Regions from separate parts of the Homo sapiens genome. Here all the other regions are linked to region 3. The links are contacts of gene promoters, found by promoter capture Hi-C in human tissues and cell types (Jung and others, 2019). All regions are on one chromosome and are shown on one strand. Each heading gives the region's core, a stretch centred on a gene start or on the middle of the fragment in contact. The rest is flanking DNA. Distances are from core to core; before and after follow the strand shown. Region 1 overlaps ADGRE5 (adhesion G protein-coupled receptor E5). Region 2 overlaps LINC01841 (long intergenic non-protein coding RNA 1841). Region 3 holds the start of CC2D1A (coiled-coil and C2 domain containing 1A). Region 4 overlaps CACNA1A (calcium voltage-gated channel subunit alpha1 A).

Region 1 (7,208 bases), core at 2,672-5,171, 480 kb before region 3:
AGGTTGCTCACTGCACAGGTATTGGGCCAATGAGATGAGCAGGGGCTGAAAACCAGCCCACTTTTTGTTTGTCAAATGTATCCACCGGGAGAGGGGGATCTTTTTCCAGTTCACATGAAGACTCTGTCTCCTCTGGCCAAGTCACATGCATGTGGGGTAACATGATGTCCACTTGCAAGGGGGCCCTGGGGACTAGCAGTGTGGCGGACAGAAGCCTCCTTCTGGGCTCCACGCAGGTGTACGTCCCAGGTATATGCATCTCTGCCTTGTCCCCCAACCCACCTCCCTCTTTATCCCTCTGTGCTCTGCCTGAATGCAGGGCAGGAGGGGTGGGGCTGGGATCTGGGCTGCCGGCCCTTTCTTCTCTCTGTAGTCTTGAGTCTCATCACCTCCCACCTCTGCACCACTCCTCTTCCTGATCTCGGTACCCTGCACTAACTCCCTCTCTTTGAATGAGTCGCAGCTCCCAGCTGCCCACTGCTGGCTCCCATCTGCCCCTGTGAATCCTGGAAGCCCCTCCCCTGCCCAACCAGCTTCCCTGGAAAATAGGCAAAGCCTGGAGTCCCAGTTTCTCCCGGCCTGAGCTGTGGCCTCAAGCAAGACCATAGCAAAGGCTGTGGCCTCTGCGCAGGGGTAGAGCCTTGCAGCTGCTCTCTGATCTCGCACCCTACGGATACCCATCCTGGGGGCGCATCAGATCAGAATTACAATAAAATCCCCATTAGCCATTGCTGATAGAGTGCATTCTGCAAGCCAGGAGCTTTTAAGTGATTTTTTTTTTTTTTTTTAGATGGAGTCTCGCTCTGTTGCCCAGGCTGGAGTGTAGTGGCGCAATATCGGCTCACTGCAACCTCCGCCTCCCGGGTTCACGCCATTCTCCTGACTCAGCCTCCAGAGTAGCTGGGACTACAGATGCCGGCCACCATGCCTGGCTAATTTCTTGTGTTTTTAGTAGAGACGGGGTTTCACTGTGTTAGCCAGGATGGTCTTGATCTCCTGACCTCGTGATCCACCCGCCTCGGCCTCCCAAAGTGCTGGGATTACAGGCATGAGCCATCGCGCCTAGCCATTTTTTTTTTTTTTTTGAAATGGAGTCTCGCTCTGTCACCTAAGCTGGAGTGCAGTGCTGTCATCTCGGATCACTGCAACCTCTGCCTTTCAGGTTCAAGCGATTCTCGTGCTTTAGCCTCTTGAGTAGCTGGGATTACAGGCATGCACCACCACACCCAGCTAATTTTTGTATTTTTAGTAGACACAGGGTTTCGCCATGTTGGCCAGGCTGGTCTTGAACTCCTGACCTCAGATGATCCACCTGCCTCGGCCTCCCAGAGTACTAGCATTACAAGTGTGAGCCACTGTGCCCAGCCTGTTAAATACTTTTGTAGGTAAATGCCATTACTCCCCTTTTAGCAAGGTGAAAGTAACTTTAACCTTTTAACAAGGTGAAAGTAACCTGTCCAAGGTCTATATTTAACAAAAGTCAAAGCTACTTTTGTTTTTATCTTTAAAAGATAAGGACTCAGCCTGGGCATGGTGGCTCACGCCTGTAATCCCAGCTACTTGGGAGGCTGAGGCATGAGAATCACTTGAACCCAGGAGGCGGAGGTTGCAGTGAGCCGAGATCACACTACTGCCCTCCAGCCTGGGTGACAGAGTGAGACTCTGTCTCAAAAACAAACAAACAAAACAAATAAAAGATAAGGACTCTTTCTTCCCCTTGTCTATATTTTTGTTTTTGTAGAGATGGGGTCTTGAAATGTTACCCAGGCTGGTCTTGAACTCCCAGACTCAAGTGAAGTGATCCTCCCACCTTGGCCTCCCAAAGTGTTGGGATTACAGGCATGAGCCATGGCACCCAACCTATCTTTTTTTTTTTTTTTTTTTCAGACAGAGTCTCACTCTGTCACCCAGGCTGGAGTGCAGTGGCGCGATCTTGGCTCACTGCAACCTCTGCCTCCTGAGTTCAAGCGATTCTCCTGCCTCAGCCTCTGGAGTAGCTGGTAGCTGGGATTACAGGCGCGTGCCACCATGTCTGGCTAATTTTTGTATTTTTAGTAGAGACGGGGGTTTCATCATGTTGGTCAGGCTGGTCTCAAACTCCTGACGTTGTGATCCACCCACCTCGGCCTCCCAAAGTGTTGGGATTACAGGTGTGAGCCACTGCGCCCGGCCAGTTCTTTTTTCATTTAATGTTTTTAATTTTTTAAAATCCTGCCTCCAAGAAAGCTTTGGTTTGATTTTTTCTTTTTTAGAGACAGGATCTTGCTCTGTCACTCAGGCTGGAGTGCAGGGGCTTGATCATGGCTCACTGCAGCCTTGACCTCCCAGCCTGAAGCAATCATCCCACCTCAGCCTCCTGAGTAGCTGGGACTACAGGCGCAGGCCTCTATGCCTGGCTAATTAATTTTTTTTTTTTTGGTATTTTTTGTAGAGATGGGGTTTCACCCGCTTGCTCATGCTGGTCTCGAACCCCTGGGCTCAAACAATCTACCTGCCTTCGCCTCCCCTTTTATAGGGGTGGGGTCTTGCTATGTTGCTATGGGCTGGTCTTGAACTCCTGGCCTCAAGAGATCCTCCCGCCTCAGCCTCCCAAAGCACTGGAATTACAAGCATGATAACGTTATCACATCTCACATGTGGACAGCGGTTTCTGAATAAGTATCCTGGCCAACGTCATACACTTGGTTATCAGGATTTGGCCCAGGCAGCTGGTCCCAGAGTCAGCCCTTAATCCTCACATCACTCTGCCTCTCTGGGGTGGTGGGGTAGGTACATGTGCACCTGTCCCATCTCAGACGCCAGGCACTGACCCTACAACCAAGGCCCTGCTCTCTGGATGCTGCCAGAATGGCTCTGGTGACCCCAAACCTCATGGATGGAAAGTCAGAGGACGTGGGGTGGTTCTTACCTTGACAGGTGTTCTCGCTCTCATTCTTGAATGTTTTTGCCCCAGAAACAGGCTCATATCCCGGGCTGCACACGCAGTCGTAGCTCCCCTCTGTGTTCCAGCAGTCCGAGAATTTTCCGCATGACACTTTCGACGGTGTTGCACACTCGTTGATGTCTGGAACACAACAGGACAGGGAGTCACCTCCCAAAGATGTGAGTTCTGTCAGGGCAGAGACCCCCATCCTGACTCCCCAACATGGGGCCTGCTGCTTAGTATCTTTTGGAAAAAATCTTAAGTTGCACTGCACAGGCTATGCTGCAGCTGGAGCAAGCCATTCCTGAAGACCACACTTGATCTTAGTTCTCTGGCTGGCATCTTAGATTTGGACACAGTGAACAGTGCTGAGGTGAGGGATGGACAGGAAGCTCCACATCCCCATCCCCAGTCTCTTTGTAGAAATTTAAACCCCATGGCGGCCGGGTGCAGTGGCTCACGCCTGTAATCCCAGCATTTTGGGAGGCTGAGGCAGGTGGATCCCCTGAGGTCAGGAGTTCGAGACCAGCCTGGCCAAGATGGCAAAACCCCGTCTCTACTAAAAATACAAAAATTATCTGGGCATGGTGGTGCATGCCTGTAATCACAGCTACTTAGGAGGCTGAGTCAGGAGGATCGCTTGAACCTAGGAGGTGGAGGTTGCAGTGAGCCGAGATCGGGTCACTGCACTCCAGCCTGGGTGACAGAGTGAGACTCTGTCTCAAAAAAAAAAAAAAGGAAAAAAAAACCTCATAGCCAGAATGTACCCCCTCCCCAGTCTTAAGGGTAAACTGAGGCACAGACTCCAGATTCCTGAGCACCCAGCTTCTCTCTCTCCAGGAAGCCATGCCTATTCACTTCTTACTTCTCCCCCTTCATATTCTTCCCTTATTTCCTTCCTTCCTTCCTTCCTCCCTCCTTCCCTCCCTCCCTCTTCTTTCCCTCCCTCCCTCCCTCTCTCTCTTGTTCTTTTCTTCTCTTTTTTTTTGAGACAGAGTTTCACTCTTGTTGCCCAGGCTGGAGTGCAATGGCACGGTCTTGGCTCACTGCAACTTCCGCCTCCCGGGTTCAAGCGATTCTCCTGCCTCAGCCCCCGGAGTAGCTGGGATTACAAGCATGTGCTCATGGGCCACCACACCCGGTTAATTTTGTATTTTTAGTAGAGATGAGGTTTCTCCATGTTGGTCAGGCTGGTCTCGAACTCCCAACCTCAGGTGATCCGCCCGCCTTGGCCTCCCAAACTGCTGGGATTACAGGCGTAAGCCACCATGCCGGGCCTACTTTTCTTTCTCTTTCTCTCCTTCTCTGTCTCTCTCTTTTTTTTTTTTGAGACAAAGTCTTGCTCTGGTCGCCCAGGCCAGAGTGCAGTGGCGCAATCTCGGCTCACTGCAACATTCACCTCCCAGGTTTAAGCGATTCTCCTGCCTCAGCCTCCCGAGTAGCTGGGATTACAGGTGACCACCACCACCCCCGGCTAATTTTTTGTGTTTTTAGTATAGAGAGGAGGTTTCACCATGTTGGCCAGGCTAGTCTCGAATTCCCAACCTCAAGTGATCTGTCCACCTCGGCCTCCTGAAGTGCTGGGATTACAGGCATGACCCACCATGCCGGGCCTATCTCTCTCCCTCCCTTCCTCCCTTCCTTCCTTCCTGCCTCCTTTCCTCTCCCTCTGCCTCCCCCTCCCCTTCCCCGTCTCCCTCCTCATCCCCCTCCCCTTCCCCTCCCCTTCCCCCCTCCCTCCCCCATCCCCCTCCCCTTCCCCCTTCCCCTCCCCTTCCCCTCCCCTTCCCCCTTCCCCTCCCCCTCTCCCTCCCCATCCCCCTCCCTTTCCCCCTTCCCCTCCCCTTCTCCCTCCCCCTACCCCTCTCCCTCTTCCCCTTCCTCTCCCCCTCTCCCTCTTCCCCTTCCTCTCCCTCTCCCTGAGACACGATCTCATTCTGTTGCCCAGGCTAGAGTGCAGTGGTGCAATCATAGCTCACTGCAGCCTCAAACTCTTGGGCTCAAATAATCCTCTCCCCTCAGTCTTCTGAGTACTCCTGGCCTCAAACGATCTGCCCGCCTCAGCCTCCCAAAGTGCTGGGATTACAGGCGTGAGCCACCACGCCTGCCCTCTTTTTCTTTTCTCTGGCCATGATGATAGTCTGGAAGGTAAGGCTGTGGCCCCTCACAACAACCTCTGTCCCCCACTGGCTGGGCAATGCCTCATAATCGCGGATGTCCCCTGCGCTGCCCTCAAGCCTCTGTACCGTCACAAGTCTCCGTCGGGGTGGTGATGATCTCAGAAAAAGAGCTGAACCCTGGATTGCAGCGACAGGCGGTGGCATTGACACACGAGGAGTTCTGAGGGCACCACCGGGCACAGCCTGCAAGAGCAGGGAGCACGGTCAGAAGGTGAGGGGTAAGGGAATACACAAAAAGGGGGCACTGGGGGAGATGGGGCAGGGCGCTGAGTTTCTCGTGCGCGAGCCCTCTCTTTCCCTGGGCTGAAGGGGGCTGGGCGGGGGTCCAGGACCCTCCCCAGGCTCTGGCTGTGGACTGTGCTTTCTGCTTCCCAGCAGACTCACCCCTGGAGTCCTGGGTTTCAGCTCCCGGCAGAGTCAGCCAGACACAGAATGCTGCAACAGAGAAAGGAAAGGGGGTCAGAGGGGATCCCAGGGTGGGAAAGGAGGCGTAAGGGTGATGCACTTTGTGGGAGGAGGATGCTGACCCCTCTCAGGCTCAGATCCTGACGGTCGTTCAGAGTGAGCAGATGTCATGTCCCACTCAGATGCTCAAAGCCAAAGAGTCTGTCACCCTGTTCCCATAGGGGCGGGTTTTTTTGTTTTTGTTTTTTTTTTGACACAGGCTCCTGCTTGGTCACCCAGGCTGGAGTGCAGTGGTGCAATCATATCTCACTGCAGCCTCCAATTCCTAGGCTCAAGAGATCCTCCTGCCTCAGCCTCCCAAGTAGCTGGGACCACAGGTGTGCACTAAATTTTTTTTTCTTTTTGAGACAGAGTCTTGCTCTGTCGCCCAGGCTGAAGTGCAATGCTGTGATCTTGGCTCACTGCAATCTCTACCTCCTGGGTTCAAGTGATTCTCCTGCTTCAGCCTCCTGAGTAGCTGGGATTACAGGAGTCTGCCACCACACCCGGCTAATTTTTTGTATTTTTACTAGAGACAGGGTTTCACCATATTGGCCAGGCTGGTCTCGAACTCCTGACCTCAGGTGATCTGCCTGTCTTGGCCTCCCAAAGTGCTGGGATTACAGGCGTGAGCCACATTTCCTGACTCAAAATTTTTAAAATAAAATAATTTATCATGCCAGGCCAAAAAATTAAAAATAATTTTTTTTTTTGAAACGGAGTCTCACTCTGTCACCCAGGCTGGAGTGCAGTGGCATGATCTCAGCTCACTGCAAGCTCCGCTTCCTGGGTTCATGCCATTCTCCTGCCTCAGCCTCCCGAGTAGCTGGGACTACAGGCGTCCACCACCACACCCGGCTAATTTTTTGTATTTTTAGTAGAGATGGGGTTTCACTGTGTTAGCCAGTATGGTCTCGATCTCCTGACCTCGTGATCCACCCACCTCGGCCTCCCAAAGTGCTGGGATTACAGGCATGAGCCACTGTGGCCGGCCTAAAAATAATTCAAAAAATTATTTTACAGACAGAGTCTTGCTCTGTTGCCCAGGCTGATCTTGAACTCCTGGCCTCAAGCGATCCTCCCCGCCTCAGCCTCCCGAGCTCGGCTTGAGGGTGGAGTTTCAGGAACTGAGTAGGGAAGGGCCATGAGCCTGGTGGGGGTCTCAGCTCCAGCTGCTGCTCTTCTGACCTGGGGTGTGTGGGGAGTGGCTAAGAAAACAGACAGGAGCCAGGCATCCCCAGTTCAAATCCCAGACAGTGGGCCTCTCTGCCTCAGTTTCCCTCTGTAGAATAGGGATGATGGCGCCCACTCCCCAGTGTAGTGTGTGTGGGAGTAAACCACATGACTGCTGTCCGGTGTGCCTGAGCATTTACTGCCATCTTCATTTCTTCTTCTTTTATTTATTTATTTATTTTATTTTTTTTCTGAGACAGAGTCTCTCTCTGTCGCCCAGGCTGGAGTGCGATGGCACGATCCTGGCTCACTGCAACCTCCACCTCCCGGGTTCAAGCAATTCCTCTGCCTCAGTCTCCAGAGTATCTGGGATTACAGGCACCCGCCACCAAGCCCGGCTGATTTTTTTGTATTTTTGTAGAGACGGGGTTTCACCATGTTGGCCAGGCTGGTCTTGAACTCCCGGCCTCAAGTGATCCTCCCGCCTT
Region 2 (7,538 bases), core at 925-3,424, 450 kb before region 3:
GATCCTCCCTCCTTATTTTTTAATTTTTTTTTATAGAGATGAGGTTTCACTATGTTGCCCGGGCTGGTCTCAAACTCCTGGGCTCAAGCAAGCCTCCTGCCTTGGCCTCCCAAACTGCTGGGATTACAGGCATGAGCCACCACACCCAGCCAGATTACTTTGTTTGAGCCCGTGAATCCAGCTGTCCCTGAAGCCAACATATCTTAAACTTTTCAATGACACAAACCAATAAATTATCATTATTTTTTCTTTAAGCCAGTTTGGGTTTGGATTTTTTACTTGCAACTAGAATAGTCTTCCCCAATCAACCACCTCTCCCTCCCTCCCTTGCTCACTCTCTTCTTTCTTCTCTCCCTCCCTCCTTCCTCCTTTCTCTCTCTTTTTTTTTTTTTTTTTTCAGGACCAACTCTGGTCCAGGCTGGAGTGCAGTGGCATGATCTTGGCCCACTGCAACCTCTGCCTCCCAGTTCAAGCAATTCTCCTGCCTGAGCCTCCCGAGTAGCTGGGATTACAGGCACCTGCCACCATGCCTGGCTAATTTTTGTATTTTTAGTAGGGACGGAGTTTAGCCATGTTGGCCAGGCTGGTCTCAAACTCCTGACCTCAAGTGATCGGCCCACCTTAGCCTCCAAAAATGCTGACATTGCAGGCGTAAGCCAGCGCGCCTAATTTAATCTCTACTATATCTTGGCAGAGTCACTATGTCCTCCAACACAGCTGAATCAAAACCGTATTTCACCTTTCTGCCAAACAGCTCTCCACCCATCATTCCCTCCTCCGCCTTCCCCTGCCATCCCCTCCCCCACTCTGTGTGGGGGACTCTGCCCAGTATGGGAATGAATTATGGCTCCCCCACTAGAGGGCTGCGTGCCCTCGCTAAGTGACTTCACCTTTCTGGGGCCTCACTTTCCCCATCTATAAAATGAGGTCATAACAGTATACCCATTGTTCCCAAGTCTGCCTCCTCTCTAACCACGCCCTTTTTTTTTTTTTTTTTTTTTGAAACAGAGTCTCGCTCTGTCACCCAGGCTGGAGTGCAGTGGTGCGATCTTTGCTCACTGCAATCTCCACCTCCTGGGTTCATGTGATTCTTGTGTCTCAGCCTCCTGAGTAGCTGGGACTATAGGTGCCCGCCACCATGCCCAGCTAATTTCTTTTTTTCTTTCTTTCTTTCTTTTTTTTTTTTTTTTGAGATGGAGTCTCCCTCTGTGAGGCTGCCAGTGGAGTCCAGGCTGGAGTCCAGTGGCATAATCTAGGCTCACTGCAACCTCTGCCTCCCGGGTTCAAGCGATTCTCCTGCCTCAGCCTCCTGAGTAGCTGGGACTACAGGCGCATGCCACCATGCCCAGCTAATTTTTGTATTTTTAGTAGAGACAGAGTTTCACCACATTGGCTGGGATGGTCTCAAACTCCTGACCTCCTGATCCACCCACCTCGGCCTCCCGCAGTGCTAGGATTACAGGCATGAGCCACCGCGCCCGGCCTCTAATTTTCATATTTTTAGTAGATACGGGCTTTCACCATGTTGCCCGGGCTGGTCTCGAACTCCTGATGTCAAGTGATCTGCCCGCCTTAGCCTCCCAAAGTGCTGGGATTACAGGCGTGAGACACCATGTCAGTCCTCTAACCCCTTCTGACTGACCCATCACTTGAGCCTTGCTCACTTGCCCTGCTCCGGCCCTCTGGCCCCTGCTCCTGGCTCACTTGCCCTGCTCCCCCAAGTCCACTCCTTGGCCATAGAAGAAGGTCTCAACCCACCGGACCCCCACGGCCACCACAGTCAGGTCTGGAACTCTGAGGAGGCTGTTGTCATCACCCCCATTTCACAGATGAGGATACTGGGCCCTGAGTCACCCAGCCAGGATCTAAACAAGGCAATTTACATAAGAGAGGTAAAAGTGTGGCCAGGGGCAGTGGCTCATGCCTGTAATCCCAGCACTTTGGGAGGCAGAGGCAGAAGGATCTCTTGAGGCCGTAAGTTTGAGACCAGTCTGGGTAACATAACAAGACCCCATCGCTGCAAAAAACTATTTTTAAATTATCTAGATGTGGTGGTGCGTGCTTATAGTCCCAGCTACTTTGGAGGATCGCTTGAGGCCAGGAGTTCAAGGCTGTAGTGAGCTATGAGCATACCACTGCACTCCAGCCCGGGCAACAGAGTGAGACCCTGTCTCTGTAAAAACAGAGAGCAAGGGCCGGGCACAGCGGCTCATGCCTGTAATCCCAGCACTTTGGGAGGCCGAGGTGGGCAGATCACTTGAGGTCAAGAGTTCGAGACCAGCCTGGCCAACATGGTGAAACCCCATCTCCACTAAAAATATTAAAAAATTAGCCAGGTGTGGTGGTGTGCGCCTGTAATCCCAGCTACTCGGGAGGCTGAGGCCTGAGAATCATTTGAACCCAGGAGGCACAGGTTGCAGTGAGCCCAGATCATGCCACTGCACTCCAGCCTGGGTGACAGAGTGAGACTCCATCTCAAAAAAAAAAAAAAAAGAGAGAGAGAGAGAGCAAAAGAGAGATAGAAGGCCGGGCGCAGTGGCTCACGCCTGTAATCCCAGCACTTTGGGAGGCCGAGGCAGGCGGATCACGAGGTCAGGAGATGGAGACCATCCTGGCTAATACGGTGAAACCCCGTCTCTACTAAAAATACAAAAAATTAGCCGGGTGTGGTGGCGGGTGCCTGTAGTCCCAGCTACTCAGGAGGCTGAGGCAGGAGAATGGTGTGAACCTGGGAGGAGGGGCTTGCAGTGAGCAGAGATCACGCCACTGCACTCCAGCCTGGGCGACAGAGCGAGACTCCACCTGAAAAAAAAAAAAAAAAAAAAGAAGAAGTGTGATAAGCTGGAGAATTCCCAGGAAGGAGTGGTTCAGGGGAGAGAGGGTGGTCAGGGAAGGCTCCCTGGAGGAGGTGACATTTCAGGACAAAAGCTTCTCAGACACAGCACCATCAGGGGGGAAAGTAAGCCAGGCAGGGGGAACACCAGGGACAAAAGTTCTGAGTTGGGAACCAGTGCGGTGTGTTCAAAGCCCATCAAGGGGGTTAGGAGGAAGGCAGGGAGATGAGGGCTGGGAAGTGGGTGGGCCCTAATTCTTACATTACTACAAACCCAGGCAGAGGAGCAACAAGCTAGATGAGCTGCAGATGAGTGATGTCTTCTCGGTGCCCACCAGGATTTCATCTCCGAGGGCAGCCTTTATTCCCTGCTCACTCTGCCTGGCTCATCGCAGCCCTGGCCCCATTTAACAAGTGAGGAAACTGAGACTCCAGGCAGCATTCCCATGCCTGAAACCATCAGCTCCAGCTTCCCCAGGCCCTGCTACCCTCTAGGTGGCACAGAATTCTAGGAGCCCTTGGCTTACCTGGGAGGTTGACTTGGGGTCCTTAAGACCAACCCATGGCCACCTCTTCCAGGAAGTCTTCCTGCCTTGAGCTGGCTGGGAACCTCTCTCCTCTGAATCCCGCTCTTGCTTGCGGCAGGCCCGGCAAGTGTGTTCTCTGAGGGGAGACTGGTGGTTTCCGATCCTCCGGACCCCACCCAGCCCATCGTGCCCCTCCTTGCAGGGAAATTAGAAAAAGCAAAAGGGAGGAGGCACTTCTGGAAGGGAAAATATTTTGATTCTCTGAAGGCACAAAAATTGCCTGATTCCTGAACAATTAGGGGTAATTAACCCTTCACAAGGTAGTAATTAAGTCGGTGCCTCTGAAGCCTTAATTACAAGCTCCAAGAGGCTCTGCCCTCTCCCCAATAGCCAGGCAGTCCCCAGAACTGAGGCCAGGCTGTGGAGAGAGGGTGTACCCCTTCTGCACTGGCGGGGAGTCGGGGACAGGGCTCTGCTCCCCTTCTGTGGCTGCGCAAGACCCACAGCCTCTCTCGTGGCCACCCCCAGGCAGGGATCCCAAGAGCAATGTTCATGAAACCAGATCTCCTCCCTGCATAGTCCCTTTTGGGGTTGTCAGGCCACATGGGGAGACTGCTCTCGGGAGTATGAAGGCAAAGGGGGCAGGCCGGGCTGAGGTCCGTGTGTGGGGCTGGCAACTTTTTTTTTTTTTTTTTGAGGCGGAGTCTCACTCTTTCACCCAGGCTGGAGTGCAGTGGCACAATCTCAGCTCACTGCAACCTCTGCCCCCCAAGTTCAAGTGATTCTCCTGCCTCAGCCTCCCGAGTAGCTGGAATTACAGGTGCCTGCCACAACGCCCGGTTAATTTTTGTATTTTTAGTAGAGACGGGGTTTCACCATATTGGCCAGGCTAGTCTCAAACTCCTGACCTCAGGCAATCCGCCCACCTCGGCCTCCCAAAGTGCTGGGATTACAGGCATGAGCCACCGCGCCTGGCCAAGCATTGGTCTTGGAAGGCACATTGCATGGTTCCCTGTGTCTCCCAGGGAGATGGGCAGGGGGTAAGAAGGGGACTTTGCAAGCAGAGCCGACCACGTGCACCTTAACTGCATAATTGGGGTCAATATGGTCAGAGGCAAAGTCCTGGGAGAGTGGTGGGGTGGGTAGGGGGACAGTGCATGGGCCAGGGCTTCTTTCTGTGGGCGACACCATATCTGTGGGTGGGCGACGAGAAGGGTGCAGCTGGTGGTGTTGGAGGGCTTTTAGCTCAGTGTGAGCCTTCTTCTCCCCTCGGGCTTTTAGGAGGTGACTCCTCAGGGGGAGTGAGAGATCAGATTTGTCTCCAAAATAGGCCTTGACATCGCAGCCCACCTGTTTCTTCATCTCTCGGCTCTGGCTACTGTGACCTCCTTTCCCACTGTTCAACACCCGAGCTCCTTTCTGCCACAGGGCCTTTGCGCTGGCTGCGCCTTCTACTGGAAATCCTGGCTCCAGACTCGGCATGGCTGGGGCTTTATTCTTCTCAGGCCTCAGGATAAGCGTCACTTCCTCAGAGCCCACTCCACCCACTCTACCCACAGCAGGTGCTTCAGTGACATCCCTGTATATACTTTCTCCTTCAGAACACTTACTGCACTTACTGCCATCAGCAATGATCTTGCAGCCTGTTGTCCTCTTCCTCCTCTCTTCTCTCTTCCCTTGGACTGTAAGCTCCAGAAGGGCATGGAGGTTTATCTGTTTTGTTTCCATTTTTTTTCTTTTTTTTGAGATGGAGTCTTGCTCTGTCGCCCAGGCTGGAGTGCAGTGACACGATCTCTGCTCACTGCAACCTCCGTCTCCTGGGTTCAAGTAATTCTCCTGCCTCAGCCTCCTGAGTAGCTGGGATTACAGGCGCCCGCCACCACGCCTGGCTAATTTTTGTATTTTTAGTAGAGAGGGGGTTTCACCATGTCGGTCAGGCTGGTATCGAACTGCTGACCTCGTGATCCGCACGCCTTGGCCTCCCAAAGTGCTGGAATTACAGGCGTGAGCCACCGTGCCTGGCCGAGCCACTGTACCTGGCCTCTTTTTACTTTTAGAGACAGGGTATCGCTGTGTTTCTCAGACTGGAGTGCAATGGTGCCATCATGACTCACAGCAGCCTCCATCTTCTGGGCTCAAGTGATCCTCCCACCTCAGCCTCCTGAGTGGCTGGGGTTACAGGCCTGAGCCAGCCCCATTCTGTCTTCTGTGTACTCTAAACCTAGAGCAATGATCTAGGTTTGCTCAATACACACAGTAGGTGCTCAATAAATGTTGCATGAATGCATGGACGACGAGTTCTAGCTGGGAAATGGCAGCCGGGAAAAGTGGGTTGTGGAGGAGAATTTAAGAGATGAGAGCTGTTTCCGAAACTCCTGGAGGGCCCGAGGTCCCCCGGGTTGGGGAGAAACGGGGGCGACCGTCCACCTCCCCGGGAGTCGCACGCACCTCCCCTTGGAGGCCCACAGGTGGCGCTCGCTCCCCGCGCTGCAGTGGCGGGAAGCGGAGGTGGAAAAACCCGAGCTTTAGCCCCGTCCCGGGTCTGGCTGCTGGGGTCAGTTCCTGGCCCGGATTTGGACGCCAGTCCCTGGGATCCTGCTTGGGGTCCTACCTCGTGGTAGAGGGGCTTTTTGGTCAAACGAGGGGGATCTGAGAAGAGTGGGGGTGGTGGGCTGCAGAGTCCGGGCAGCTGAGGGCTCCCTCCATCTGTCCACGCGTGCTCTGATTCCATTCCCAAAACTAGTTCAGCAGCTCCATGCCTGGGGGAGGGGGAGACGCACTTACCATGTTCGTGTTCTTCCTTAACTTTATATAGGTTAGAGCTGGGCGCAGCGCTTGGTGTCAGTGGGTCTTGGGTGCACATTTGTGGAATGGTGAATGGGTGAATCCCCGTTTTACAGATGGGGAAACTGAGGCTCAGGGAGGCGATGCGGCTCACCCAGGTTCATAGAGCCAGAAAATGGCAAGGCTGGGATTGGAGACACCAGGCCTGTGTGAGTCCAGAGTCAGCCCATTTTGTTTGTTTGTTTGTTTGAGACACGGTTTTGCTCTGTCACTCAGGCTGGAGTGCAGTGGCAGGATCTTGGCTCAGTGCAACCTCTGCCTCCTGGGTTCAAGCCATCTCCTGCCTCAGACTCCCGAGTAGCTGGGATTACAGGCACGCGCCACCACGCCCAGCTAATTTTTTGTATTTTTAGTAGAGACAGGGTTTCACCACGTTGACCAGGCTGGTGTGAAACTCCTGACCTCAAGTGATCTGCCCGCCTCAGCTTCCTAAAGTGCTGGGATTACAGGCGTGATGCTTGGCCAAGAGTCAGCCAATGTTTAAAAAACAATGTATGTTTAAAAAACATTGTATTTGGCTGGGCGTCATGGCTCACGCCTATAATCCCAGCACTTTGGGAGGCTGAGGCGGGTGAATTACTGGAGGTCAGGATTTCAAGACCAGCCTGGCCAACATGGCGAAACCCCGTCTCTACTAAAAATACAAAACTAGCTGGGCGTGGTGGCATGCGCCTGTAATCCCGGTTACTCGGGAGGCTGAGGCAGGAGACTCCTTTGAACCCGGGAGGCAGAGGTTGCAGTGAGCTGAGGTCACGCCATTGCACTCCAGCCTGGGCAAAAAGAGCGAAACTTCGTCTCAAAAGAACAAACAAACAACAACAACAACAAAAATTGTATTTTATTTATTGCAGAGACGAGAAGTCTTGCCATGTTGCCCGGGTTGGTCTCCAACTCTTGGGCTCAAGACATCCTCCTGCTTCAGGCTCCCTCAGTGCTGAGATTTCAGGTGAGCACTACCTCGCCCAGCCTAAAAACATTTTTCAATAGATTTTCTAGTTACCCAAAGTGATACAGGATTCCCTCTGGGAAGCTAAAGCCCTTCCTGTCCCTCCTTATCTCAATTCCGAGATGATGGTGGGGAGGGTCTCCTTTCATCCTACCCTCTTTGCCTTCAAAAGCATGTCTACACATGCCTAAGGGGTCTCTGGGTTTCTAGCTGGGTCATAAACTTCTCCTGTCTGGGCTGGGCACAGTGGCTCATGCCAATAATCCCAGCACTTTGGGAGGACAAGGTGGGAGGATCACTTAAGATCAGGAGTTCGAGACCAGCCTGGTCAACATGGAGTGACCCTGTCTCTACTAAAAATACAAAAATTAGCTGGGTGTGGTGGCAC
Region 3 (7,035 bases), core at 3,698-6,197:
CTCAAGTGATCTTCCTGCCTCAGCCTCCCGAGTAGCTGGGATTACAGGCATGCACCACCACACCCAGCTCTGGTCACAAAATTTTAATCAACTGATCAATACACAACCTTGCTCTATGTGTGTTTCTGTTTGAAGACACCTTCCTGAATAGATATCGTTCATTCATTAACTTTGAATTCACAGCCAACAGCACAGTAGTTCATGCCTGAATGAAGCTTCTCTCTTTTTTGTTTTTTGGAAACAGGATCTTGCTCTGTCACCCAGGCTGGAGTGCAGTGGCGCAATCTCTGCCCACTGCAACTGCTGCCTCCTGGATTCAAGCGATTCTCATGCCTCAGCCTCCCAAGTAGCTGGGATTACAGGTGTTCGCCACCAAGCTTGGCTAATTTTTGTATTTTTAGTAAAGACAGGGTTTCACCATGTTGGCCAGGCTGGTCTCGAACTCCTGGCCCCAAGTGATCTGTCCACCTTGGCCTCCCAGAGTGCTGGGATTACATGCATGAGCCAATGTGCCTGGCTGACATGAGCTTATTGTGTGTGAGGGGGCCCTGGGTGAAATACTTATGGACTCCAGATTAACTCCTATAACATGGTTATTATTCCAGTTTTACAGATGGTGAAACTGAGGCCAAAGCACATGATGTGACTCATCAAGTCACATAACCAGTAAGTGGCAGAGCTCGGATTCCAACTCTCAGTCTCGGTCCAGACTTGATCTTTTTTTTTTTTTTTTTTTTTTTGAGACGGAGTCTTGCTCTGTCGCCCAGGCTGTAGCGCAGTGGTGCGATCTCGGCTCACTGCAAGCTCCGCCTCCCTGGTTCACGCCATTCTTCTGCCTCAGCCTCCTGAGTAGCTGGGACTACAGGCGCCCGCCACCACGCCCGGCTAATTTTTTTTTTTTTTTTGTATTTTTAGTAGAGACAGAGTTTCACCGTGTTAGCCGGGATGGTCTCAATCTCCTGACCTCATGATCTGCCTGCCTCGGCCTCCCAAAGTGCTGGGATTACAGGCGTGAGCCACCGTGCCCGGCCTCAGAGTCGATCTTGACTCTCTTACCCAGATCATTGGCTCCAGGAGAACAGGGGTCTTCTCTGTCTTCTTTCCCCTACCTACCCAGTGCCCCCAGTTCTGCGCCCGAACCACTTGCAGGAGATCAGAAAATGTTCTGAGGGTGTGTTAACCATCTCACCTTTGCCTTTGAGCTTCTCCAGGGCTGGGGGCTGGCCCCCGACCAAAGCCAAGAACTCAGCCTCCAGTTCTTCATCGTTAGCCCCGTCCTCAGGGATCATCAGGCCATCTGGGGAGAGGTCAACCAGCAGGCCCAGCTAGGGGAACAGCAAGGGTTCAGTCAGACCTTTGGTTCACCACATGGCTAGAGGCAGCCATGATGGCCAGAGAGTCCCCTTGGGAGGAAGGAAACAAGGTCTCCCAGGGAAAGCCATTTCCCTGGGGAGTGCCAGGAGGCTGGAACAAGCCCAGAACAGGTGTTCCAAGATAGGCCAGGCCCTCTGGCACAGTTCAACCTGGGGCAAAGGGCAAGAGACCCAGCTCTCTGATCTGAATCCACACTTATGATGTGCTGCTGGGCCAAGTTCAGTGGGAAAAGCAGGCCCCTGGCTGGGCGCAGTGGCTCACGCCTGTCATCCCAGCACTTTGGGAGGCCAAGGCAAGAGGATGGCTTGTGTCTGGGAGTTCCAGACCAGCCTGGGCAATACAGTGAGACCCCCAACTCTACAAAAAAAAAAAAAGTTTTTTGTTTTTTGTTTTTTTTTGACACAGAGTCTCGCTCTGTCACCCAGGCTGGAGTGCAGTGGTGCAGTCTCAGCTCACTGCAACCTCCGCCTCCGGGGTTCATGCCATTCTCCTGCCTCAACATCCCGAGTAGCTGGGACTACAGGCGCCCGCCACCACGCCCGGCTAATTTTTTTTTTGTATTTTTAGCAGAGACGGGGTTTCACCTTGTTAGCCAGGATGGTCTCGATCTCCTGACCTCATGATCTGCCCGCCTCGGCCTCCCAAAGTGCTGGGATTACAGGAAAAAAAACTTTTTAAAATTAGCTGGGAGTTGTGCTGTGTGCCTGTGGTCCCAGCTACTCGGGAGGCTGAGGCAGGAGGATCACTTGAGCCTGGGGAGATCAAGGCTGCAGTGAGCCATGACTGTGCTACGGCACTCCGCCTGGGCAACAGAGTAAAGCCCTGTTGAAAGGAAAGAAAGAAAGAGAGATGGAGCCGGGGAGGGAGAGAGGGAGGGAGGAAGGAGGGAAGGAAGGAAAAAAAGAAGGAAGCGAGGGAGGGAGGGAAGGAGGGAAGGAAGCAGGCTCCACACTTTGCCCAAAGCAAAGCTACTCTGTACACTTGGGCTTTTCTTTCCAGCATCCTCAGCAGAGGGGCTGTGTGGGAAGGTTGGGCTTCAAGAGCATGATGGCTGCATGCGGTGGCTCACGCCTGTAATCCAGGAGTTCGAGACCAGCCTAGCCAACATGGTGAAACCCCGTCTCTACTAAAAATACAAAAATTAGCTGGGAGTGCTGGCGGTGTCTGCAATCCCAGCTACTCGGGAGGCTGAGGCAGGAGAATTGCTTGAACCTGGGAGGTGGAGGTTGCAGTGAGCTGAGATTGCGCCACCAAACTCCAGCCTGGGCAACAGAGCAAGACTCTGTCTCCAAAAAAAAAAGAAGAGCAATTAGAAGCCCTGACGACAGGGCCAGGTGCAGTGGCTCACGCTTGTAATCCCAGCACTTTGGGAGACCAAGGTGGGGGGATCACCTGAGGTCAGCAGTTCGAGACTAGCCTGGCCAACATGGTGAAATCCCATCACTACTAAAAATACAAAAATTAGGCCGGGCACGGTGGCTCACGCCTGTAACCCCAGCACTTTGGGAGGCCGAGGCAGGCGGGTCACCTGAGATGGGGAGTTCGAGACAGACCAGCCTGACCAACAGGGAGAAACCCCGTCTCTACTAAAAAATACAAAATTAACCAGGCATGGTGGCGCATGCCTGTAATCCCAGCTACTCGGGAGGCTGAGGCAGGAGAATCGCTTGAACCCGGGAAGCGGAGGTTGCAGTGGGCCGAGATTGCGCCACTGCACTCCAGCCTGGGGCGAGAGAGCAAGACTCTGTCTCAAAAACAAACAAACAAAAAAAGAACCCCTAACCACAATGCAGGTTTGCCATGCAGACCCGTCTTCCTATCTTGGCTAATGACCAATCATGATGTGATAACATCGTGTTTAACCATATGAAATTGCCTTTCCTGTAGGTAAAAAATGGCCAAATATTGGCAATTATGTATGGTTCCACCAACTAGTAATAATGATAATAGTAACATTTATTGAGTGCTATGTTCTAGCACTTTCCATAAACTATCTCAATGACTCTCTACAACTGTCCTGTAATGTAGGGTCTCTTGGAGGTCTCCATTTTTAATTTTTTATTTATTTATTTATTTTCAGAAGGAATTTATTTATTTATTTTGAGAAGGAGCCTTGCTCTGTCACCCAGTCTGGAATGCAGTGGCGCGATCTCAGCTCACTGCAACCTCCGCCTCTCGGTTCAAGCGATTCTCCCACCTCAGCCTCCCGAGTAGCTGGGATTACAGGTGCCCGCCACCATGCCCAGCTAATTTTTGTATTTTTAGTAGAGATGGGGTTTCGCCATGGCCTCCCAAAGTGCTGGGATTACAGGTGTGAGACACCACCCCGGACTTCCATTTTTAATTTTTTATCTTTATTTTAGAGAAAGAGTCTTGTTCTGTCACCCAGGCTGGAGCAGAAGTAGCGCAATCATAGCTCACTGCGGTCTTGAACTCCTGGGCTCAAGCAATCCTCCCTTCTTAGCCTCCCAAGTAGTAGTACTACAGGCACATGCCACCATGCCCAGTTAGTCTTTTTTTGTCGAGACGGGGGTCTTGCTTTTGCCCAGGCTGGTCTCAAACTCTGGCCTCAAATGACTCTCCCACCTCTGCCTCCGCCTCCATCTCCTGAAGTGCTGGGATTATAGAGATCTCCATTTTACAGATGAGAAAGCTGAGGCTCAGAGCTGTAAAGTCAAGTGTCCGATGTACAGAGGCCAGGAGGGAACTTCAGGTCAGCCAGACTCTAATATCTGAACACCAAGCTATGTCCTGGGCTCCTTCCATCAAAACTGAGAAAAATCAAACTATCTGGTGCCTGGGGCAAAGAAGTCGGGAGAGTGAGAAGGGGTCCAGCCACAGTGCCATAAGCTTATGGCTGCAGCCCTGGATTTGTGCTTAGCCCTGGCCAAGCTGTTAATCCCTATGACCTTGGGCAGATGTCTTCACGTCTCTGAGTCTCAAAGTCCTCATCTGTACAATGGAATAAAAAGAGTCTGACATGGCCCGACTGATGCAAGGGTTTGATGTGTCAAGTCCGAGGACTGCCCCTCCTCGACTGGAGCAGCTGTGGCAACAGGTGGCCCCGAACCCGGGGCAGGGCCCCAGGAGCTGGGGAGCCAAGGCCAGTAGGCCACACTTGGGTGGTGTTGGAGCCTCACCTGGGGGGAGGCGGGGACCGGGGCTTACCTGTGGGGCGGAGATCGGGCTTCCCTGGGGGGTGGGGCCCTTCCCTGAGCGAGTGACGGGGGTGGGGAGGGATCCCCAGGTCGGGCCGTGGGGCGCAAACTCACCTGGCGGGCGGCCGCGGCGCCTCTGCCCGGGGGTCCCGGGGGTCCTTTCCTCTTGTGCATCTTCAAGGCTGGATGCCCGGACCACCTGCCCCCAAGCCCGGCCTTGCCCTGCCTCCTTCCCCGGGCTCTGTCGCCGCGCACTCGCCCTTCCTGAGTCCTGCACTCCTCGTCGGCGCCCCGCGGCCGTCGATCCCGAGCCCTCGCTTCCCTGCTTGGCCGTCCCACTTCCGCCTCGGGCCTCGGGCGCCGCCGCACCGGAGCGCGGCCACTGGGCTCGCCGGGTCTGCCGAGCCGAAACTACAACTCCCGGCAGGTAGTGCGTGGGCGCGCAGGCGCCTGGCTGGGGCGGTGCTGACTGTCGCGGGCTGCGAGGGCGGTGTTTGCGTCGCTCATGCGCGGGGCGGGACCTCGCGGGGCGCGGGAAAGAGGCAGAGCGCGCGCAGGTGTGAGGGGCGGCGACATCTGTGGGGTTCAGAGCGTCTGTCAGTCACCGACGGGCTCCGGCTTCACGTGGGCTCTCGGCCTGTGGAGTCCTCACTTCTCGGTGGTCGGCGTAGTGTCAGTGTGGGGCTTGTCACCGGGAGCGGGGTCTACAGCGCCCACCCTCAGGCCTTTCCATCTTTCACCTCCGGACTCGAGGCCTCCAGCGTTCTGTGAGGGCCAATTTGGCCATTTATTTTTTCCAAAAAGAGTAACGCGGATAATTCAAGCGACTTATTCCCAACTGATCCAGGCAGAGCTCGTTTCTGATAAGGACAGAGGGTCCTCAACGACTTCTGTGGCCCAGGTCCGTTCTGGTTTGCCTCGCCCCCAAGGCTGGGAGAAACCGGCCTATGGCAGCTCTTTCCCCTCCAAGGACCCAGCTGTCCCCTTTAAAGTGGCACGATCTTGGCTCATTGCAACCTCTGCCTCCTGGCCTTGTACCACAGCCTCCTGAGTAGCTGGGATTACGGGTGTGTGCCACCGCACCTGACTAATTTTTTTTTTTTTTTTTGAGACGGAGTCTCGCTCTGTCGCCCAGGCTGGAGTGCAGTAGAGCGATCTCGGCTCACTGCAACCTCTGCCTCATGGGTTCAAGGAATTCTACTGTCTCAGCCTCCCAAGTAGCTGGGATTACAGGTGTGCGTCACGATGCCCAGGCTAATTTTTGTGTTTTTAATAGAGAGGGGGTTTCACCATATTGGCCAGGCTGGTCTCCAGAGGCCCCTGGAGAGTCCTCAAGTGTCCTTGGAAGGGCCCCCAGATACCCCAGTCTGGAGGGAGGGGCTTCACACAGGCTGTTTCATCCTAGGGACCAGAGTCTGGGTCCCCGGGGCTATCTATAAGGACCCCCCAGGGCCCATTTGTCTTTCAGGTCCTGGGCATAAGATCTTCAGTTTGGAGGAGGTTTGAATTCCTACCTGGCCATGGCCCAAAGTGGCTGTGACTCTGTGTCCCATCCTGTGTCCCAGTGGGAGCCATCTGACCCCTGGGGCAGCCAAATGGGCTGAGGTGGAGGTAGGGGTAACCTCTGCTCTCAGCCAAAGCCACTGGATATAAACAGAGACAGAGACTGCTTATAATGATGAGAGATTTTGCTTGTTTTCAGATTTCTCAAGGGGAAGATAAAATGACTAAGAGGAAGAAGCTGCGGACCTCAGGTACGTTCATTCAAATGGACACTTGTTGATTTCTGCTTCTGCTTGTGGGAAGAATGTGGGCTTGTTTATTGCAGATCTGGCTAACACGACTGCCTTAACCTCCTTAAAAGGAAGCAAGGATTGGCCGGGTGCGGTGGCTCACACCTGTAATCTCAGCACTTTGGGAGGCCGAGGCGGGCAGATCACAAGGTCAGGAGTTCAAGACCAGCCTGACCAACATGGTGAAACCCCGTCTCTACTAAAAATACAAAAATTAGCCAGGTGTTGTGGCACATGCCTGTAGTCCCACCTACTCGGGAGACTGAGGCAGGAGAATCGTTTGAACCTGGGAGTCCGATGTTGCAGTGAGCCAAGATGGTGCCACTGCACTCTAGCCTGGGCAACAGAGCAAGACTCTGTCTCAAAAAAAAGAAAAAGACAAAAAGGATTTAATTCATGCTGGTAAGAAAAATAGAAGGCCGGTGTGGTGGCTCACGCCTGTAATCCTAGCACTTTGGGAGGCCGAGGTGGGCGGATCGCTTGAGTCCAGGAGTTCAAGACCAGCCTGGGCAACATAGCGAGATCCTGTCTCTACAATGTAAAGTAAGGAAATTAGCTGGGCGTGGTGGCAGGCACCTGTAGTCCCAGCTACTCAGGAGGTTGAGGCAGGAAGATTGCTTGAACTGGGAGGTGGAGGTTGCAGTGAATCCAGATCGTACCACTGCACTCCATCCTGACTGATAGATTGAGGCCCTGTCTCAAAAAAAAAA
Region 4 (7,605 bases), core at 4,321-6,820, 490 kb after region 3:
TGCTTGGAGACAGAGGCCAGTTTTGTCCATCTCCAAATCCCCTAAAGTCCTGTGGCCAGCAAGCAGGTAGGACATCTGAAAGTTCGTCAGAGAGGGAATTGCTTTTCTCTTGAGATGCAACTAGAACAAGAATCTTATTGACCTGGAGTAGCTTCAAGGTTGTAAGAGTATGTGTCAGGGTTCTCCAAGACCACTCTCAGGTTTGAAGGTTTGCTAAAAGGGCTCACGGGACCCAGAAAAGCTGTGAAATTCAGTTATGGTTTATTACAGTGGAAGAATACAGATAATACAGATTAAAATCTGCAAAGCAAAAGATGCACAAGGCAATGTCCAGGGGAGATCAGGCATGAGCTTCCAGCTGTTCACTCCCAGTGGAGTTATGCAAACAGTGCTCAATTCTCCCAGCAATGGTGTGTGACAATGTACAGTGTACCGCCAACCAGAGAAGCTCACCTGAGCCTTGGTGTCCAGGGTTTTTATTGGGGCTCAGTTACATTGACATGGAGCACCCATGTGACTGACTTTAACTGCTGGGTCTCCAGCACACTCCAAGATCAAACTGATACCGTGTGTCCCAGGGCCCCAGCTGAACACAAACAGGCAGTCACCATAGATCCCATTGTGAGCATAAGCTACCAGGCATGGCCCAAAGCCCTAGATATACAGATATTCTTTCCAGGAGCCAGCCAAGGGCCAGTCCTTCCTTTGGAATATGCAGAGTTTGAACTCCCCAACCCCAAGGAGTTAACTCTTTACTACACAGAATATAAATCTCACCAAGTCTTTCTTCTTGTCAAGTCCTCTCAAGGTGACCCATTGCTTTTAGCAGTGTCTTTGAGACCCTGCGTCATCTGGCCTTGACCCATATCACCTGTGTTATCTCTCCACTCTAGCTACATTGAACTTTTCTTTTTTGAGATGTGGTCTCACTCCATCACCCAGGCTGAAGTGCAGTGGTACAGTCACAGCTCACTGCAGCCTCAAACTCCTGGGCTCAAGTGATCCTCCCACCTCAGCCTCCTGAGTAGCTGAGCCCACAGGTGCATGCCATTACACCCAGCTAATATTTTTATTTTTAGTAAAGATGGGTTCTCACTATGTTTCCCAGGTTGGTCTCAAACTCCTGGGCTCAAGCAGTCCTCCCATCTTGGCCTCCCAAAGTATTGGCATTACAGGGGTTAGCCACCACATCCAGCCCATTGAACTTTTTAAGGATCCCCTAGCATCCTATACTTTCTGTCACTGGATAGCCTTGGAATTATTTTTCCTTCTTTTTGAAATACTCTTCTTCTTTCCACCCTTTGCTGTCAAGTCTCAGAATAGGCATTATTTCCTCCAAAAACCCTCTCCTGACCCTCCAAATCTGGATGAGGACACTTCCTTTGCCCAGAGAGCACCTGTTTTAATCCTCTCAGGTGGCTATAATAAAATACCTTAAACTGGGTGGCTTATACACCTCAGAAATTTATTTTCCACAGTTCTGGAGGCTGGGAAGATCAAGGCACTGACAGATTTGGTGTCTGATGAGGGGCCATTTCTTGTTTCGTAGAAGGGGTCTTCCTACTGCATCTTTCCATGGTGAAAAGAGTTGAGGCAGCTCTCTGAAACCTCTTTCATGAGAGCATGAATCCCTCTGTCTTCATGATCTAATCACCTCCCAAAGGCCCCACTTCCTAATATCTTCACATTGGTGACTAGGTTTCAACATATGAATTTGAGAAAGACACAGACATTCAGACCATAGCAGTGCTCTTCCACCAGGTTTTTTATCCCCCTGTATTATAATTGAGGTTTAAATTATCTGCTTTCCTTCCCTTAGATTGTAAGCTCCATGAGAGCAGGGCCCTACCCATCCAGTCATTGTCCTATCCCCCATGACTACAACTTCCTGGGTACATAATTAATATTTATTATATTATGTAGCAAAGGTATGCTGCCATACTAAGAGACCCAAAAGGCCACCGGATTAAAACCTTAAAGAAAAAAAAATAATTTCTCTCCTATAATAGCTGCAAGGTTAGCCATGCAGGTTGGCAGGGAAGCTCACTTCCACAAAGTCACTCAGGGATTCAGGCTCCTGTTGCCCTCTTCTTTTCTACCACCAAATGATCTTCAGCACCATTTGCACAATCAAAACTTAACTGGTCTTGAATAGGCAGACCTTGAATTTCTGAAGTCTCAGACCCAAAAGTGGCAGCTGTCACTTCCACTGACATATCACTGATGGAAACTTAATCATGTGATCATACCAAACTGCTAGGGATGCTGGGAAATGTAGTTTTGTTGGGAACTCCATGACTTGGCTAAAATTCCATTACTGTAGAAGATGGTGGGGGATGGGGGAGTGGTGGACATCCAGTGGTTGCTACCATATTTATTGAATCAAATTGTCAAACAGGACCTATCTGATAAGGGGTTCTTTTCCAGAATTAACTGAAGTATTAAATCAGGGGCAAAGGCATGTCACCTCATCTTTCTCTCCCTATATTGGCTTTCTAGGGCTGTTATAACAGAGTAACATGAACTTGGCGGCTTAAAACAACAGAAATTTATTTTCTCTTAGTTCTGGAGGCTAGAAGCCTAAAATCAAGGTGTCAGCAGAGCCACCTTGACAACTGCTCTAGGAAAGAATTCTTCCTTGCCTCTTCTGGTGGCTCCTGGCAACCCTTGGTATTCTTTGTCTGGCATCCACTTCAATCTCTGCCTCCATCTTCATTTGCCTTTTTTCTCTGTGTGTCTATGTCCTTTCCTCTTCTTAGAAGGATACCAGTCATTGAATTTAGGGCTTACTCTAAATCCAGGATGATCTCACCTCAAGATCCTTAATTAGTTACATCTGCAAAGAGCTTATTTCAAAACAAGATTGCATTCTGAGGTTTCGGTAAACACGAATTTGGGGGAAATAGTATTCAACTCAATTCACTGCTTTACTTAAGAAAAGAGACCATGAAGTGAGCCTCCTTCTGCTTGAGAGAGAGAGCGAGCCTTTCTGTGCAATAGGTCAATGAATGGATGCAGCTGAATTCCACATAACTTTATAAAAATAGATGGCCAGCCCATGGGGTTTGCTGACCCCTGCCCAAAAATTCCAAAGTCAACAGCAGTCTCTTTTTTAATCATTTCTCTATTTTTTAATTTATTTTTATTTTTATGTTGAGATAGAGTCCCGCTCTGTCGCCCAGGCTGGAGTGTAGTAGTCTCGGCTCACTGCAACCTCTACCTTCCAGATACAAGTGATTCTCCTGCCTCAGTCTCCTGAGTGGCTAGGAGTACAGGTGTCCGCCACCATACCCAGCTAATTTTTGTATTTTTAATAGAAACAGGGTTTCACCATGTTGGCCAGGCTGGTCTCGAACTCCTGACCTCAAGTGGTCCACCCACCTCGGCCTCCCAAAGTGCTGGGATTACAGGCATGAGCCACCATGCCCGGCCAGGATTTTCTTCATTTTAACAGCATTCTTACTTGTCCCACATCCATTCTATCCTGGGTCTAATTAGATAACAAAATCTACAGATCTTGTTTAACTGACATTGTCCTGGGGGATACTTTTTATCTTTTGAGACAAGGTCTCACTCTGTTACCCAGGCTGGAGTGCAGTGGCCTGATAACAGCTCACTGCAGCCTCGACCACCTGGGTTCAAGCGATCCTCCCACCTCAGCCTCCAGAGTAGCTGGAACCACAGATGCATGCCACCACACCTGGCTAATTTTTAAATTTCTTGTAGAGGTGGGGTCTCCCTATGTTACCAAAGGCTGGTCTCAAACTCCTGGGCTCAAAAGAGCCTCCCACCTTAACCTCCCAAAGTGCTGGGATTACAGATATGAGCCACTGTTTCCAGCCTTGGAAATATAGTCTAAGAACTGAGTCAATAGGCGATTTTGTCATTGTGTGGACATCATGTAGAGAACTTAACACAAACCTAGATGGTATAAACTACTGCACACCTCAGTTATGGGGCATACCCTATTGCACCTAGGCTGCAAACCTGCACAGCAGGTTACTGTCTTGAATACTGTAGGCAGTTGTAACACAATGGTAAGTATTTGTGTATCTAAACATATCTAGGCCGGGCACGGTGGCTCACGCCTGTAATTCCAGATCACCTGAGGTCAGGAGTTCGAGCCCAGCCTGGCCAACATGGCGAAACTCCTTCTTTACTGAAAAATGCAAAAATTAGCCAGGTGTGGTGGCAGGCACCTGTAATCCCAGCTATTCGGGAGGCTGAGGCAGGAGAATCGCTTGAACCTGGGAGGTGGAGGTTGCAGTGAGCTGAGATCATGCCACTGCACTCCAGCCTGGGTGACAGAGCAAAACTCCATCTCAAAAAAATAAAAAATAAAAAACATATCTAAACAGAAAAGGTACAGTAAAAATACAGTTATAACCATATGGGACCACCATTGTATAGGCAGTCCGCTGTTGATCAAAACATATCAAAACATCGTTATGTAGCACATGACTGTACCATAAACCACACGGCTTCAAACAAGGGAAATGTATTCTCTCACTGTTTTGGAGGCCATAGGTCTGAAATCGAGGTGTCACCAGGGTCCCTCCAAAGGATCCGGGGGAGGATCCTTCCATTGGATTTGGAGTTGCTTCACTCCAGTCTCTGCCTCAGTGGTGACAGGGCGTTCTCCTCTTCCCTCTCAAAGTTCCCTCTTCTGCTGTGTCATAAGGATACATATGACTGCATTTAGGCCCCACTCAGAAAATCCAGGAATAAACTCTTGCCCTCATATTCTTAACTAAATCGTACCTGCATACCTTATTTTTTCTAAATAAGGTAGCATTCCAGGGATTAGGACATCAACATAACTTCTGGAGGGTTCACTGTTCAACCCACTACAGCCAGAATGCGCTTTGAATTCAGGTTCTGACATCTGGGACTGCCTCCCACGTACACACACCACTACCTTGTACTGAATGCCTGAAGGGTTCTGCCCCCACCTCCACTCCCCCAAATATTTGCTGTGGACCTGAGAAAGCTGACTTCATGGAAGCTTCATTCCATTGTTCTAAGGACTTTTCATACATTAACAAATGTCTTCTCTCTATGGGGAAAACCACAGAGAAATCAAGACAGAGTGGGGTTAAGTAACTCACCTGAGGAGGAACAGTAAGTGGCAGAGCCAGGATTCAAACCAACATGGTTTTGCACAGTTTTGACATCATTTGCAACACAAATATTGTCACAGATACCTTTTTGAGCATCTACTGTGCTAACCGCCAGGAAGGAAAAGAACATGGGGCCGGGAGAGCTCTTGACAGGGGACAGGGCTGGCCATGGAGGTCTGTGTCTTGGTGGAAGATGCTATGGTTCTCTTTTTTTTTTTTTTTTTTTGAGATGGAGTCTTGCTCTGTCACCCAGGCTGGAGTGCAGTAGTGCAATCTTAGCTCACAGCAACCTCCACCTCCCGGGTTCAAGCGATTCTCCTGCCTCAGCCTCCCAAATATCTGGGATTATAGGCACACACCACCACGCCCAGCTAATTTTTGTATTTTTAGTAGAGATGGGGTTTCACCATGTGGGCCAGGCTGGTCTCGATCTCCTGACCTTGTTGTGATCCACCCGCCTCGGTCTCCCAAAGTGCTGGGATTACAGGCATGAGCCACCACACTGGGCAACTATGGTTCTCTTTTAACTCCTTGTGCTGAAATTATTGCAGAAGCCCAGGCCAGTTCATCCCCAGAAAGTGAGGCATAAACAGGCAGAGCTCTACAGAAACAGAGAATCCACGACTGGTTTGATGGAGGCTGCCTCACTACCTACAGAATGGGCTCTGGGTGGATTGTTCTATCTGGGGAGCCAGCCCACCCACCAGTCTCAGCCCTTGGCGACTCTTTCCTGCTGTCACAGCAGCTGGACATTCAGAAACCGAAACATGACAGCCTTCCCTCCCTGTTCCTGCCCAGTGGAGTGGAAACCCCTCGGGACCCACATACCGAGCGTGCACAGCAGCACAGAGTTGCACAGTTAACACAGCGCTTCTTCTCCAGCCCTCCGGATGCAAGCTGACAGATTGGCAGCTGGCTGACTTCCAAGGTCCAGTGAGTTCTTGGCAGTCGCTTTCTGACCTGGACGAGTGGCTGCCACCTCCTGGAACATCAGGCTGCCCCCTTGGGGAGAGGGTGACGGTCTCTCTGGAAAGACTGTGAGCTTTGAGGTGGTCATCAAAAGCCATTCTTGGAAACATTCTTTGAGCTGTACCGTGCAATTCGGTCACCAATTGCACGTATTTGGATATTAATATCCGTATGTGGATATTAAATTGGTTTTGGGTTTTGTTTTGTTTTGATTGTGGCAAAATATACACAACAATCCTCCTGCCTCAGCCTCCCAAGTAGCTACAGGCATGCACCACCATACCCAGCTAATTTTTGGATTTTTTAAATTTGTTTGTTTGTTTTTGTTTTTTGAGATGGAGTGTAGCACTGTTGCCTGGGCTGGAGTGCAGTGGCGCGATCTCAGCTCACTGCCACCTCCGCCTCCTGGATTCAAGTGATTCTCTTGCCTCAGCCTCCTGAGTAGCTGGGATTACAGGCGCCCGCCAACACGCCCAGCTAATTTTTTGTATTTTTAGTAGAGATGAGGTTTTACCATGTCGGCCAGGCTTGTCTCGAACTCCTGACCTTGTGATCCACCCGCCTCAGCCTCCCAAAGTGCTGGGATTACAGGTGTGAGCCACCGCGCCCGGCCGATTTTTGTAGTTTTAGTAGAGACAGGGTTTCACCATGTTGGCTAGGCTGGTCCCGAATTCCTGATCTCAGGTGATCCACCGCCTCGGCCTCCCGAAGTGCTAGGATTACAGGCATGAGCCACCGCACACAGCCTAAATGCTGTGCCTCACGCCTGTAATCCCAACACTTTGGTAAGCTGAGGCCAGAGGATTGCTTGAGCCCAGGAGTTTGAGACCAGCCTGGGCAACATAGGAAGACCCCATCTCTATAAAAAATAAAAATAAATTAGCCAGGCGTGGTGGTGCAGGCCTGTGGTCCCAGCTACTCGGGAGGATGAGGCAGGAGGATCGCTTGAGCCCAAGAGGTCAAGGCTGCAGTGAGCTGTGATTGTGCCACTGCACTCCAGCATGGGTGAAAGAGCAAGACCTTGTCTCAAAAAAAATTAAGCGAAATTTAAAATTCTGTTTCTCACTCACACAGGCTGCACTTCAAGTGCTTAATCATCCCTTGTGGGTGGTGGCTATCATATTGGACAGCATGGATAGAGAATATTTTTATCAGCGTAGGAAGCTTCATCAGAGAGGACCGCTCAGAGGCCTGTGGGGACCAGCACAGTGCAGTAGAAGACACAGGCCAGCTGGTGAGAGACTGGTCTTCTGATCCCAGATCTGTCCCTCACTTGCTAGGTGACCTTGGACAGCTCCCTCAGTCCCTCTGGAGTTTTCTCTTCATTGTTAAATCAGGAAATTGGCCTCAGTGAATTCTGAGGCCCCATCTACTTTTTTTTTTTTTTTTTTTTTTTTTTTTTTAATTGAGACAGAGTCTCGCTCTGTTGACCAGGCTGGAGTGCAGTGGCATGATCTTGGCTCACTGTAACCTCCGCCTCCCAGGTTCAAGCAATTCTCTGCCTCATCCTCCCCAG

Evidence for each region. Contacts are between HindIII fragments. The study calls those that stand out against the background at their distance.
Region 1: a fragment that was not itself captured here is called in contact with the fragment with the promoter of CC2D1A in region 3 in 1 of the 25 tissues and cell types used here (dorsolateral prefrontal cortex).
Region 2: a contact is called between a fragment that was not itself captured here and the fragment with the promoter of CC2D1A in region 3, in 1 of the 25 tissues and cell types used here (lymphoblastoid cells).
Region 4: a fragment that was not itself captured here is called in contact with the fragment with the promoter of CC2D1A in region 3 in 2 of the 25 tissues and cell types used here (dorsolateral prefrontal cortex and lymphoblastoid cells).

The regions. Positions count from the first base shown.
Region 1 is chr19:14,386,780-14,393,987 of GRCh38, reverse strand. ADGRE5 (adhesion G protein-coupled receptor E5) reads right to left here. Exons shown (of 20, transcript NM_078481.4): 2 at 5,488-5,538; 3 at 5,170-5,286; 4 at 2,909-3,064. Among named protein-coding and RNA genes, the nearest start is that of ADGRE5, 8.9 kb to the right of the region's middle. The HindIII fragment of the contact is 6,584 bases long and covers 630-7,208 here.
Region 2 is chr19:14,346,927-14,354,464 of GRCh38, reverse strand. The region is part of intron 1 of LINC01841 (long intergenic non-protein coding RNA 1841); the gene reads left to right. Among named protein-coding and RNA genes, the nearest start is that of LINC01841, 13 kb to the left of the region's middle. RefSeq lists enhancers at 3,473-3,972, 3,973-4,474, 5,273-6,151. The HindIII fragment of the contact is 8,577 bases long and covers 1-6,462 here.
Region 3 is chr19:13,904,113-13,911,147 of GRCh38, reverse strand. CC2D1A (coiled-coil and C2 domain containing 1A) reads right to left here and starts at 4,947. Exons shown (of 29, transcript NM_017721.5): 1 at 4,647-4,947; 2 at 1,190-1,325. The coding sequence starts at 4,706. It overlaps BRME1 (break repair meiotic recombinase recruitment factor 1), which reads left to right and starts at 5,031. Exons shown (of 9, transcript NM_001345843.2): 1 at 5,031-5,433; 2 at 6,235-6,286. The coding sequence starts at 6,256. RefSeq lists a silencer at 4,573-4,632. The HindIII fragment of the contact is 13,583 bases long and covers 2,302-7,035 here.
Region 4 is chr19:13,415,631-13,423,235 of GRCh38, reverse strand. All of the region lies in intron 3 of CACNA1A (calcium voltage-gated channel subunit alpha1 A), which reads left to right. Among named protein-coding and RNA genes, the nearest start is that of CACNA1A, 87 kb to the left of the region's middle. The HindIII fragment of the contact is 6,305 bases long and covers 2,418-7,605 here.